2 separate regions of the Homo sapiens genome follow, and region 1 is linked to region 2. The links are contacts of gene promoters, found by promoter capture Hi-C in blood cells and fetal thymus (Javierre and others, 2016). All regions are on one chromosome and are shown on one strand. The core of a region is centred on a gene start or on the middle of the fragment in contact, and the rest is flanking DNA. Distances in the headings are between cores, read along the strand shown. Region 1 overlaps PBK (PDZ binding kinase). Region 2 holds the start of SCARA5 (scavenger receptor class A member 5).

Region 1 (5,512 bases), core at 1,750-4,249, 160 kb after region 2:
ATTTTCAAATGTACTGGTGTGAAGTTATTCTTGATACACCCTTATTAACCTTCTAGTGTCCTTTTTCATATCTGGTACTAGTATTGTATATTTTCTTAATTTTTTTCCTTAATCAGTCTGACTTGAGGTTTATGTATGTTGGTGAATGTTGCATGCACTTGAAAAGGGCATTTTTTTCTACTCTTACTGGGTACGGTGTTCTACAAATGTCAATGTTCTACAAATGTCAATGATATTCTGTATACTTTTTATATTAATTATGAGAGAAGAGAGTTGAAGTTTCCAACTACAATGTGGATTTGTCTGCTTCCCCCCACCCCCAATTTCTATCAGTTGTTGCTTCATGTATTTTGAAGCTTTGTTATTAGGTACATACACATTTAGGATGGTTATTTCTTTTCTTTTTCTTGTTTTTTTGAGTTTCCTTTTGTCACCCGTAATGGAGTACAACAGTGTGATCTCGGCTCACTGCAACCTCTACCTCCTGGGCTCAAGTGATTCTGGTGCCTTGGCCTCTGGAGTAGCTGGGATTACAGGCGTGCACCACCATGGCCGGCTAATTTTTGTATTTTCAGTAGAGACAGGTTTTCGCCATGTTGGGCAGGCTGGTCTCAAACTCCTGGCCTCAAGTGATCCACTCTCCTTGGCCTCCCTTTCAAGTGCATGCAACATTCACCAAGACACATAAACCACAAGTCAGATCCCAAAGTGTTGGGATTACCATGCCTGGCCTAGGATGGTTATTTCTTTTGATGAATTTATACCTTAACTGTTACGAAATACCCTTCTTAATCCTCAGTGGTACTCTTTGTTCTGGAGTCCACTTTATGTGATAGTAATGGAGCCACTCCAGATTTATTTTGATTTGTGTTTTAATGATGTTTTTCAACCCTTTACTCTTGCCCTATTTGCGTCTTTATATTTAAATTGAGTTTATTATAAATGGCATGTCTCGTCTTGTTTTTATCCGTTCTGACAACTTTAATTTCCTTTAACTGGACTGTTTTGCCATTAGCTACATGTGGCTATTTAAATTTGGTTATTTAAATTTGGATTATTAAATGTGGTTATTTAAATTTGGATACAAATTAATTAGAATTAAATAAAATTACAAATTGAGTTCCTCAGTTGTATTAGTCACATTTTAAGTGCTCAGCGCTCAGACAGCACAGATATAGACATTTCCACATGGCAGCATGATGTATTGGACAGCTCTGTTTAGACCATTTATACTCAATGTAATTGTCTATTGTTGGATGTAAATCGGCTGTTTTGCTATTGTCCCATAGCTCATTGATGATTTTTTTCTAACCTTTTTCTCTCTTTGCTTCATTTTTGATAGTTTTTGTTGCTCTGTCTTAAGATTTAGTTATTCTTCTGCTCTAAGATGATGTTATTCTTATCCATTGTATTTTTCATTCCTAAGCTTCTATTTTGTCTTTTTTTTTCCGTTATGCTCAGATTTTCCTTTGTATCATTGAGCACATTTTTAAGATTTGTCTTAAGGTTCTTATCTGCTAATTTTGCCATTCCTGTCATTTTTTTTTTTTTTTTTTTTCTTGAGACAGAATCTTGCTCTGTCACCCAGGCCGGAGTGCAATGGTGCGATCTCAGCTCACTGCAACCTCCACCTCCTGGGTTCAAGCAATTATCCTGCCTCAGCCTCCCGAGTAGTCGGGATTACAGGCACGTGCTACCACGCCCAGCTAATTTTTGTATTTTTAGTAGAGACAGGGTTTCGCCATGTTGGCCAGGCTGGTCTTGAACTCCTGGCCTCAAGTGATCCACCTGCCTCAGCCTCCCAAAGTGCTGGGATTACAGGCGTGAGCCACCACTCTTGGCCTCCTGTCATCTTATGGTATGTTTCTATTGATTGATTGATTTTTTAATTTTTTGAGATGGAGTCTTGTGCCCTGTCGCCCAGGCTGGAGTGCAATGGCGCTATCTCAGCTCACTGTAACCTCCGCCTCCTGGGTTCACGCCATTCTCCTGCCTCAGCCTCCCGAGTAGCTGGGATTACAGGCACGTGCCACCACACCTGGCTAATTTTTTGCCTCTTTAGTAGAGACGGGGTTTCACCATGTTGGCCAGGCTGGTCTCGAACTCCTGACCTAGTGATCTGCCTGCCTCGGCCTCCCAAAGTGCTGGGATTACAGGCGTGAGCCACCGCGCTAGGCCTCTATTGATTTATTTTTCTCCTATATTGGTCATATTTTCTTGCTGCTTTCATGCCTGGTACTTTTTGATTGGGCAGTAGATATTTTGCATTGTCTAGTACTGGATTTTGTTATTCCTTTAAAGAGTGTTTGATTTAGTTATGGTCTGAGGTTAAGTTACCTGCACATTAGCCTGTTCCTTTTGAGACTGGCTTTTAAGCTTTGTTTTGAATGTTTATCTGGGGCTAAACTTTAGCTGTACTATCTAGTTGTGACCCTTTAGAGGACTTTACTATGTGTTACAGGGTTACCATCCTCTAGCTCATGGTGATATGAAGTGTTCCTAGACTTGTATGATCTCTGGTAATTGTTGAGCCAATTGCTTTCCTCTGGTGCTTTCCCAGCTTTGGGGCATCTACACATTGTTATGTGCGGATAAGTACTTGGCCAAACACTCAAAGAGAAACTGTTCAGATCTTTGGAGTGCTCTCTTTGGAGCTCTCTAGTTCTCTGCTCCACAAATTCTAGCCGCCTAGTCCTTCTTGACCTCTGATCTCTGTCTCTTCAATGTGACAGGACTTCTGGATTATGTGACCTCTGTCCTGCAGTCTGGAAACTGCCTTCAAGCAGTAAGTTAGGGCAGTGATAGGGCCCACCTCATTTGTTTCTCTTCTCTCAGGCATCACAACACTGCTCTGCCTGTTGTCAAGTGTCTGAAAACAATTATATTTTGTCTAGTTTTCTAGTTAATGGCGAGATGGTAACTCTAGGAGCAGTTAATTGTCCAGGAGTAGTTAATTATTTTTCATGAGCAGAAGCAGAACTCCATCTTTTCATCTTTTTTTTTTTTTTTTTTTTTTTTTGAGACTGTGTCTTGCTCTGTCACCCAGGCTGAACACAGCTCACTGCACCTGCACCCTTAACCTCCTGGGCTCAAGTGTTTCTCCCAAGTAGCTGAGACCACAGGTGTGTGCCATCATTCCTGGCTAATTAAAAAAATTTTTTCGTGTGTAGAGATGGAGTCTCTTTATGTTGCCCAAGCTGGTCTCTACTGGGCTCAAGTGACCCTCCTGCCCCGGACTCCAAAAGCGTTGAGATTATAGGCATGAGCCACCACATCCAACCCCTTTATCTTTTAACAATGTTTTAAAAATGTGAAAACAGTTCTTAGCTTGTAGGCCATACAAAAACAGGCCATTTCCCAATCTCTGCTTCAGAGTTACTGTAGGATAAAACTCCAAAAGTAGGCTTGGTCAAAAGATACCCATTTAAAATTAGGATATATGTTGTCAAATTGCTCTCCAAAAAGACTGTGCCAATTAATACTCTTGGCAGTAGTATATTGAGAATGTTAAGATGCTTTATTTTTATTTTTTATTAATTTTATTTTTTATTTCTCTGACATTTAGTATTATGTTCAACTCCAACTATAAATATCCCGGCCTCTCCGTTTATGCAGAAGCTTGGCTTTGGTACTGGGGTAAATGTGTACCTAATGAAAAGGTAAGTATAAGATTTCAGATTAACCTTTTTTCATGCAACTATAATTCTACTGTACTTGGAGACAAAGAAGTAGTCTGAAAATTCCAGTATTTAGATTCGGTTGTCTGCTCCTGATCCTGGCTGATGGCTGTATTCCGGTCCCTAGACCCTTTTGTAACTTTGCCTGTAGCTCTGCCTCTGCTTTTCTCCTAGCTTCCTCCTGATGGGTTATTAAAGGGGAAGTCATTTACTTTTTAATTTTTCCTTGGCTTCCATAAGAAGGGGAAGTGGCAGGGGAAAGGGTTCCTTTGTGGTAATTAAACCAGATTCTTCATGAGAAAACCTCAAAGAGGAAGCCAGTATTGGGTGATGTCAGTGACTGCTGTCTTTTCTGCAGCGTTGCCCTCCTAAGATATGCTCTTCTAAAAGAAGTAAAAGATTTTCATTTCTTATGGCATTGTTATTAAGAAGGGTAAATACATGATTTTAAAGTAGGAATATTGTGTTAAGAAAAATGAAATAATCGAACAAGTATGGTGCCAATATAGCTGTCAACAAAGTGTTTTTTTAAATTACTTTTTTATTATTCATATATTTTTTTGAAACAGAGTCTCACTCTGTTGACCAGGCTGGAGTGCAGTGGCACGACCTCCCAGGTTCAAGCGCTTCTCCTGCCTCAGCCTCCTGAATAGCTGGGATTACAGGCGTGTACCATCACACCCAGCTAATTTTTGTATTTTTAGTAGAGACAGGGTTTTGCCATGTTGGCCAGGCTGGTCTCGAACTCTGGCCTCAAGCGATCTGCCCGCCTTCGCCTCCCAAAATGCTGGGATTACAGGTGTAAGCCACCATGCCCAGCCCAAAATTACTTCTTTTAATCATTACTCTGTACCTAGTTTCATGTTTATTAAGTGGCAAACAACTACATCAATATATATTCCTTAATGCATTCTTGGAATCAGTCTAACTAGTCCAACCCTCCGTATCTTAGCTTCATCTAGGTTTACATTGTTTCCAGATAGAAATGCTTTCTTTAATAAGAGGCTAATTAAGAATAATTTAGTAATTATATACAATGGGTATTCCTGAAGCATTTTTGCAGTTTAAACATTTTTTTTGTATGTTTGTATGGTATTGTTTTCTAATTTGTTTTTTAGTGTTAACTCCTATTTTGAAAGAAAAAAATTCTCACAGGTTTATGGCTAGTTTCATTTTTTTCCCCCTTTTTAAAAAAAGTTTTTAAATGTAAAGTGTTTTTAACAAAGTTACACTGTATGTGGTTTAGTCAAAAAGCTTCAAATAGCTGATCTTTTTTTTTTTTTTTTTTTTTGAGACGGAGTCTCGCTCTGTCGCCCAGGCTGGAGTGCAGTGGCGCGATCTCGGCTCACTGCAAGCTCCGCCTCCCTGGTTCACGCCATTCTCCTGCCTCAGCCTCCCGAGTAGCTGGGACTACAGGCGCCCGCCACCACGCCCGGCTAATTTTTTGTATTTTTAGTAGAGACGGGGTTTCACCGTGTTAGCCAGGATGGTCTCGATCTCCTGACCTCGTGATCCGCCCGCCTCGGCCTCCCAAAGTGCTGGGCAAATAGCTGATCTTGAAGAACAGCAGTGCCTGCCTGACCCTACACTCCTCCTGATTCAGCCCTGTCAACCTGGGATTTCTTTTATCCATAACCTGCAAATTTCCTATGCTTCTCTGCTGAATTATATCCTGTGTTTTTAGGTATCTTGTGTCTTATTATTTCTTGATTTACATCCCGTTTTCATTTAGGACATCTGGTAGCTCCCCATGAATCGGTGCACAGAAGATATATTTTTTTGAGAATTTGCATTTCCAAAAATGTTTTCATTTTACTCATACTTGAATGGCCCTT
Region 2 (5,158 bases), core at 644-3,143:
CAGAGGATCAAGCCAGCCCACTCCTGCAAGCCCTTTCTACGGCATCCCAAATACATTCATGACTCAAATACCCCCACAAAGGCCCCACCTCCCAACACTGTTGCAATAAAGATTACATTTCCAATGCTTGAATTTAGGGGGACACTAACTACCACATTTCTTGCTAACATACACATCTCTTTAGGGAAGGTCTTTGGACATCACTTTTTTTTTTAAGACAGGATCTTGTTCTGTTACCCAGTCTGGGGTGCAGTGGTGCGATCACAGCTCACTGCAGCCTCAAACTCCTGGGCTCAGTTGATCCTCCCATCTCAGCCTCCCAAGCACCTGGGACTACAGGTGTGCATCACCACGCCCAGCTATTGTTTGTATTTTTTTTTTTTTGTAGAGACAGGGTTTTGTCATGTTGCCCAGGCTGGTTGGACATCATATTTTGAGCACATTTCTGGCTGTTTTTAAGATTACATTCCTAGGAATGTTGGTGAATTGATGGGGGACAAAAACATTTGTTTCCCCTTGAGAGGCAATGGTACAGGGGAGGGGTTAAGAGCATAGACCCTAGGATCACATTGCCTAGGGTTGAATACTAGCTCTGCCACTTACTGGCTACAAGACCCTGGACAAGTCACTTCCTCTCTGTCTCTGTAAATGAGCATAATAGCAGCACCTGCCTCAGGGGGTTGTTGAATAGGTTCAATGAGCTAATATATAAGAAACACATGGTATATGCTATAAAGTGTTGTCTTCTTTTCCTTCTCCTCCTCCGCTCCCTGGGATTATTACCATAATGATACAATTATCATTTGTTCTTTCTGTAAAATGGAGTTTGATGTTGGAGCTGCTTCCTAGGCAGTCAGGCAGGGCAGTCACTGAGAATGAGGACGGCGTTTCTGACTCAGCTGTGGGCGGGCAGCTGCAGTGACACAGCTGAGTCTTGGCAAACACTTTTCATGTACGAAGCCTGACCCTGGAGTCTTGAGGCTGAACTTTTCACCAACAAACAGGAATGCATTCATGAATGTTACCTCTGGGTGCTGTCCTCTGGAAGCCATCTGCATAGCCTAACTCTGCCACCCTGGCTTGGACAATTATGGTGATTTCTCTGATGCCCCTGATACTACCACCTCAATCTGAATTTAGCAGCTCCCTTCACATATGGTTAGATTGCCTTTAAAGAGATTTTTTTTTTTTTTAGAGATGGGGTCTCACTATGTTGCCCAGGCTGGTCTTGAACTTGTGGGTGGGCTCAAGCAATCCTCCCACCTCAGCCTCCCAAAGTGCTGGGACCACAGGTGTGAGTCACTGCACCCGGCCTAGATGTCCTTTTTCAAACGTAAGCAATCATGCTCAGGTTTAGGATTATTCGTGCCTGGGTCCCCCTCCCATACTGAATTGCTATGGACAGCCAGCTAGTCTTCATCCTGCACCCCCCAGCCCCTGTGCAGCGTTAATGAGCCAGAAACGCTGATTCTGCTGCTGAGTTCCGTGGAACCCCCTGGGGCATTTTCCTGACTACCCCCAGTGTGGCCAATCCGTGTCCACTGAGGATGAATGTGACTCCAGGAAAATACATGAAGTAACTCTGTGCCAAGCTTGGTGAATGAATTGAGCCATGCCAATTCTGTGCTATAAATAAATTTACAAGACTGGTTTTCTTGCGTGGCTCATAAGCCAGGTCTAGCTGCCACTCCCCCAGAAGTCTTCCAAAAAGTATTTTGAGCAGGACCTTTAGACTGGGGTGTTGGAGTCCCAAGGCCAAGGCCGACCGCGCTGCTCTGGGCCCAGCGGGCGTTCCCACACGGGGCTGTAATGCCACGATTGGCCGCAGGAGGGGGGCCGTATTCCAGACCCCATTGCAGAAGCCTCCGCAACTGCTCCAAGAACTTTATTTTATACGGACTGGCGGCGAGAGCAGCTGCAGTTCGCATCTCAGGCAGTACCTAGAGGAGCTGCCGGTGCCTCCTCAGAACATCTCCTGATCGCTACCCAGGACCAGGCACCAAGGACAGGGAGTCCCAGGCGCACACCCCCCATTCTGGGTCCCCCAGGCCCAGACCCCCACTCTGCCACAGGTTGCATCTTGACCTGGTCCTCCTGCAGAAGTGGCCCCTGTGGTCCTGCTCTGAGACTCGTCCCTGGGCGCCCCTGCAGCCCCTTTCTATGACTCCATCTGGATTTGGCTGGCTGTGGGGACGCGGTCCGAGGGGCGGCCTGGCTCTCAGCGTGGTGGCAGCCAGCTCTCTGGCCACCATGGCAAATGCTGAGATCTGAGGGGACAAGGCTCTACAGCCTCAGCCAGGGGCACTCAGGTGAGTCTTGGTACTAATTTTGTCCTATCTCCTGGGCATGCTGTCTCAAAGACAGCTGGAGGAGACTGGAGTGAACTGGATGGAGAGGAGTACAGAGTTTGGGAAACTTCAGACCTAGAGCCTGGAGGTGCCTTCTCCAGGTGGGAAGGTCCCCGCCTGCTGGGCCCGCAGATATCTGCCGGGCCCTCATCCAACTGCCTGGGCTGGAGAGAATGTGAGCCTGCATTTGGGGTGCCAGAGGGAAGCTATTGCCTTGGTGGCTACTCCACCTGACTCATGTCACAGCTCAAGAGCCTACTCAGGGTGCAGATGGCTCAGGTGACAGCTCCTCTCCATGGCTTCGTGTGTGTGCATGTGTGTGTGTGCATGTGTGTGTGTGCATGTGTGTGTGTGTGCATGTGTGTGTGTGTGCATGTCTGTGCGTGTGCATGTGCCAGTGGTGGGATATATGTGGGGAGAGGTTATTTCTAAAATATCTGTCTCTGTCCAGCTTTGGGTTATGATTTAGCTTAACTAAGTACAGTTAGAGGAGGAAAACATTTAAAACCTCCTTAGTGATTCTCTCTTTGGAGAAGGGCCACACTCATGTGATTTTTTTCCTTGGTTTTGATGAGTTTAAAGTGAGGTAATCCAAAGAAAAGCCATAAACCCTGCAGAGTTAGATGCGGGTACCCAGAGAAACTGACTTGGTAGCAGCAAATGAGGCTCGTGCTACCCACTCAGAGGAGGAATTAATGGAGTCCTTCTGATCTCCAGAGAAGGATTGAAGAGCCAGGGTCCTGATATCAGCCCTAGAGTGCATTCGCGATTGCCTTTTACAAAGGGAACTTCAAACAGCTTTGTTTCTGAGACTGGCTAGGTAGGAGGGAGGCCTTGGGAACCTGGACACCCCCTTACCTGGCTGCCAGGCAGAGTCAGAAGATGCTGGGGGATGCTTTTTCTCATCAGACTGCCACCAGCTCCCCTGAGTGACCTTGTTCATAAAGTCATGCCACATGCATTATCTCACGGGAGGCTCACAGTGATCCTGGGTGACCAGCAGCTACCCACCTTCCCATCTTAGAGGTCATGTACCTGAGGCTGAATGAGGTCAGGTAATTGAGCCAAGTTCCCCCAAGAAACCAATACGCAGAGGAGCTAGGATGGGAGCCCTTGGCTTCTGTGTTCCCTGCATTCCTGCAGAGAGCCAGGCCTGCAGGGCGCAGATGGCCCCAGGGCACAGGGCTGCAGGGCACAGATGGCTGAGGGCTTTTCCAGCTCTAAAATGCAGAATCTAGAAGCAGATCCCTGGCTCTGAACCTGCCCTTCTAAGTGCCTTGGGTGAAATTGTCTGGAAGTAAATCATGATTGCCAAGAGGTTAGTGGAGAGGGTGACACCTCCCTGTTAGAGCAAGACCTCCCTCTTTGAGTTGCAAGTTGAGGTCCAGTCTCCTTGGGCTTCATCCACAGGTCACTGTGGCTTCCACATCTCGCCCATGTGCTTCAAGCTCTCAGAGCCCTGCCTCAGTCCCAGGATCCCCACCTGCTGGAGTACACTGGCTGGCAGTCTGAGGTGGGATTCTCTTCTCTGCCTGATCTGGGGCCCAGAAAGTGGTCACCAAAGGGGCTGACATGCAATTCCCAAACAAAGCAACCCTGCAGCTGAGCCAGTGCCCTGTGTAGGAAAACTGTGCCCGGGGCCTCTTCCCGCTCTGATATCCATTCCTTCCTTTGCCTCTTTGGTCTGGGATGGCTTATGTTTAAAATGGGAGGGACGGAATGCAAATGCCATCAGCCTACCCCCAACACAGTGCTCCTGGGAGGAGCACTTGCCATCAGTTTCATCTTCTAGAGCACAGACTTGGTCCAAAGACAGTAAGATCCATGATCTGAGGGTCCCAATGCCTGCTTCCTCCCCCAAGAAAGAAAAACAGCCCCCAAGAAACCTTGGGCAGACAGAACATGCGTAGGTTTCAATTCCAAGTAACAAACATGAGTAGAGTTGTCTGAGCTTTTCCAAGCCCTGTGCACTCACATCTGGCCCCGCTCGGCCCCAGTCCCTCTCCCCAGCAGATCCCCTGGGCTCCTGCTGGACCAGCTGAGGGGTGGGGAGGAGGAAGGAGACAGCTGCCCTTCACACACATTCTGGCTAACAAGCCGTGCATTCCAGCCCCGTCCCAGGAGCTGACCAGAAGAGGAGGAAGGTGGAAATGGCAGTGGGGCCTCACACCTCCACTCCCCAGGGGCAGCGCCCTGTCTGGCTCTGTGTGGCCTCTGGGAAGCAGAGGCTATTGCCTTTGGCAGAGGGAGGGTTATTGCAGGCAAAAGAGACATTGGCCTCCTGCTTCACAGCCCCGCAAGGAGTGAAGCCAGAGGGAGGGCTGCCGCACACAGTGCTCATGAAATGAGGGAGGGTCCCTTGCAACTTAGCAGTGCTGGAGCTGCCCGCGGCCCCACCTAGAGGCCCTGCCTGGGTGGAGGCATTGGGTGGAGGGCCGGAATTGGGAGCCCAGTGAACTGGACACCACTGCAGCACAGGGAAGCCAGAGTGGGTGGTGTCTGGGGCAGGGAGGAGAGATCCTGGCAGAGCCGAGGACCACCCCCTGTTCCATCCCTCCCATAGGCTGGAGGAGAGGCCCGCAGATACTGGGAGCCCCAAGGCTGTGTGTGTGCACATGCGTGTGTGTGCCCGTTATGGGGGATGTACAGAAGGGCTAACAGCAGAGGCGTCCAGCCCTCCTGGGTCATTAGAAGGACATGTATACAGTGACTGGTCAGTTCTGGTCTCTTCTCAGCCCAAATGTCAGAGGTCTGTGGAGGCCAAGCTCAAGTCATGAAAATAGGGGCTTCAGCTGGGTGCAGTGGCTCAC

What was found. The method cuts DNA at HindIII sites, captures the fragments that hold promoters and counts their contacts. A CHiCAGO score of 5 or more calls a contact.
Region 1: a contact is called between a fragment that was not itself captured here and the fragment with the promoter of SCARA5 in region 2, in 1 of 17 cell types (monocytes). The highest score is 5.7, in monocytes.

Annotation. Positions count from the first base shown.
Region 1 is chr8:27,826,252-27,831,763 of GRCh38, reverse strand. PBK (PDZ binding kinase) reads left to right here. Exons shown (of 8, transcript NM_018492.4): 3 at 3,566-3,659. Among named protein-coding and RNA genes, the nearest start is that of PBK, 8.8 kb to the left of the region's middle. RefSeq lists a silencer at 3,626-3,826. The HindIII fragment of the contact is 1,242 bases long and covers 2,379-3,620 here.
Region 2 is chr8:27,989,408-27,994,565 of GRCh38, reverse strand. It overlaps SCARA5 (scavenger receptor class A member 5), which reads left to right and starts at 1,893. Exons shown (of 9, transcript NM_173833.6): 1 at 1,893-2,309. The HindIII fragment of the contact is 6,163 bases long and covers 1,595-5,158 here.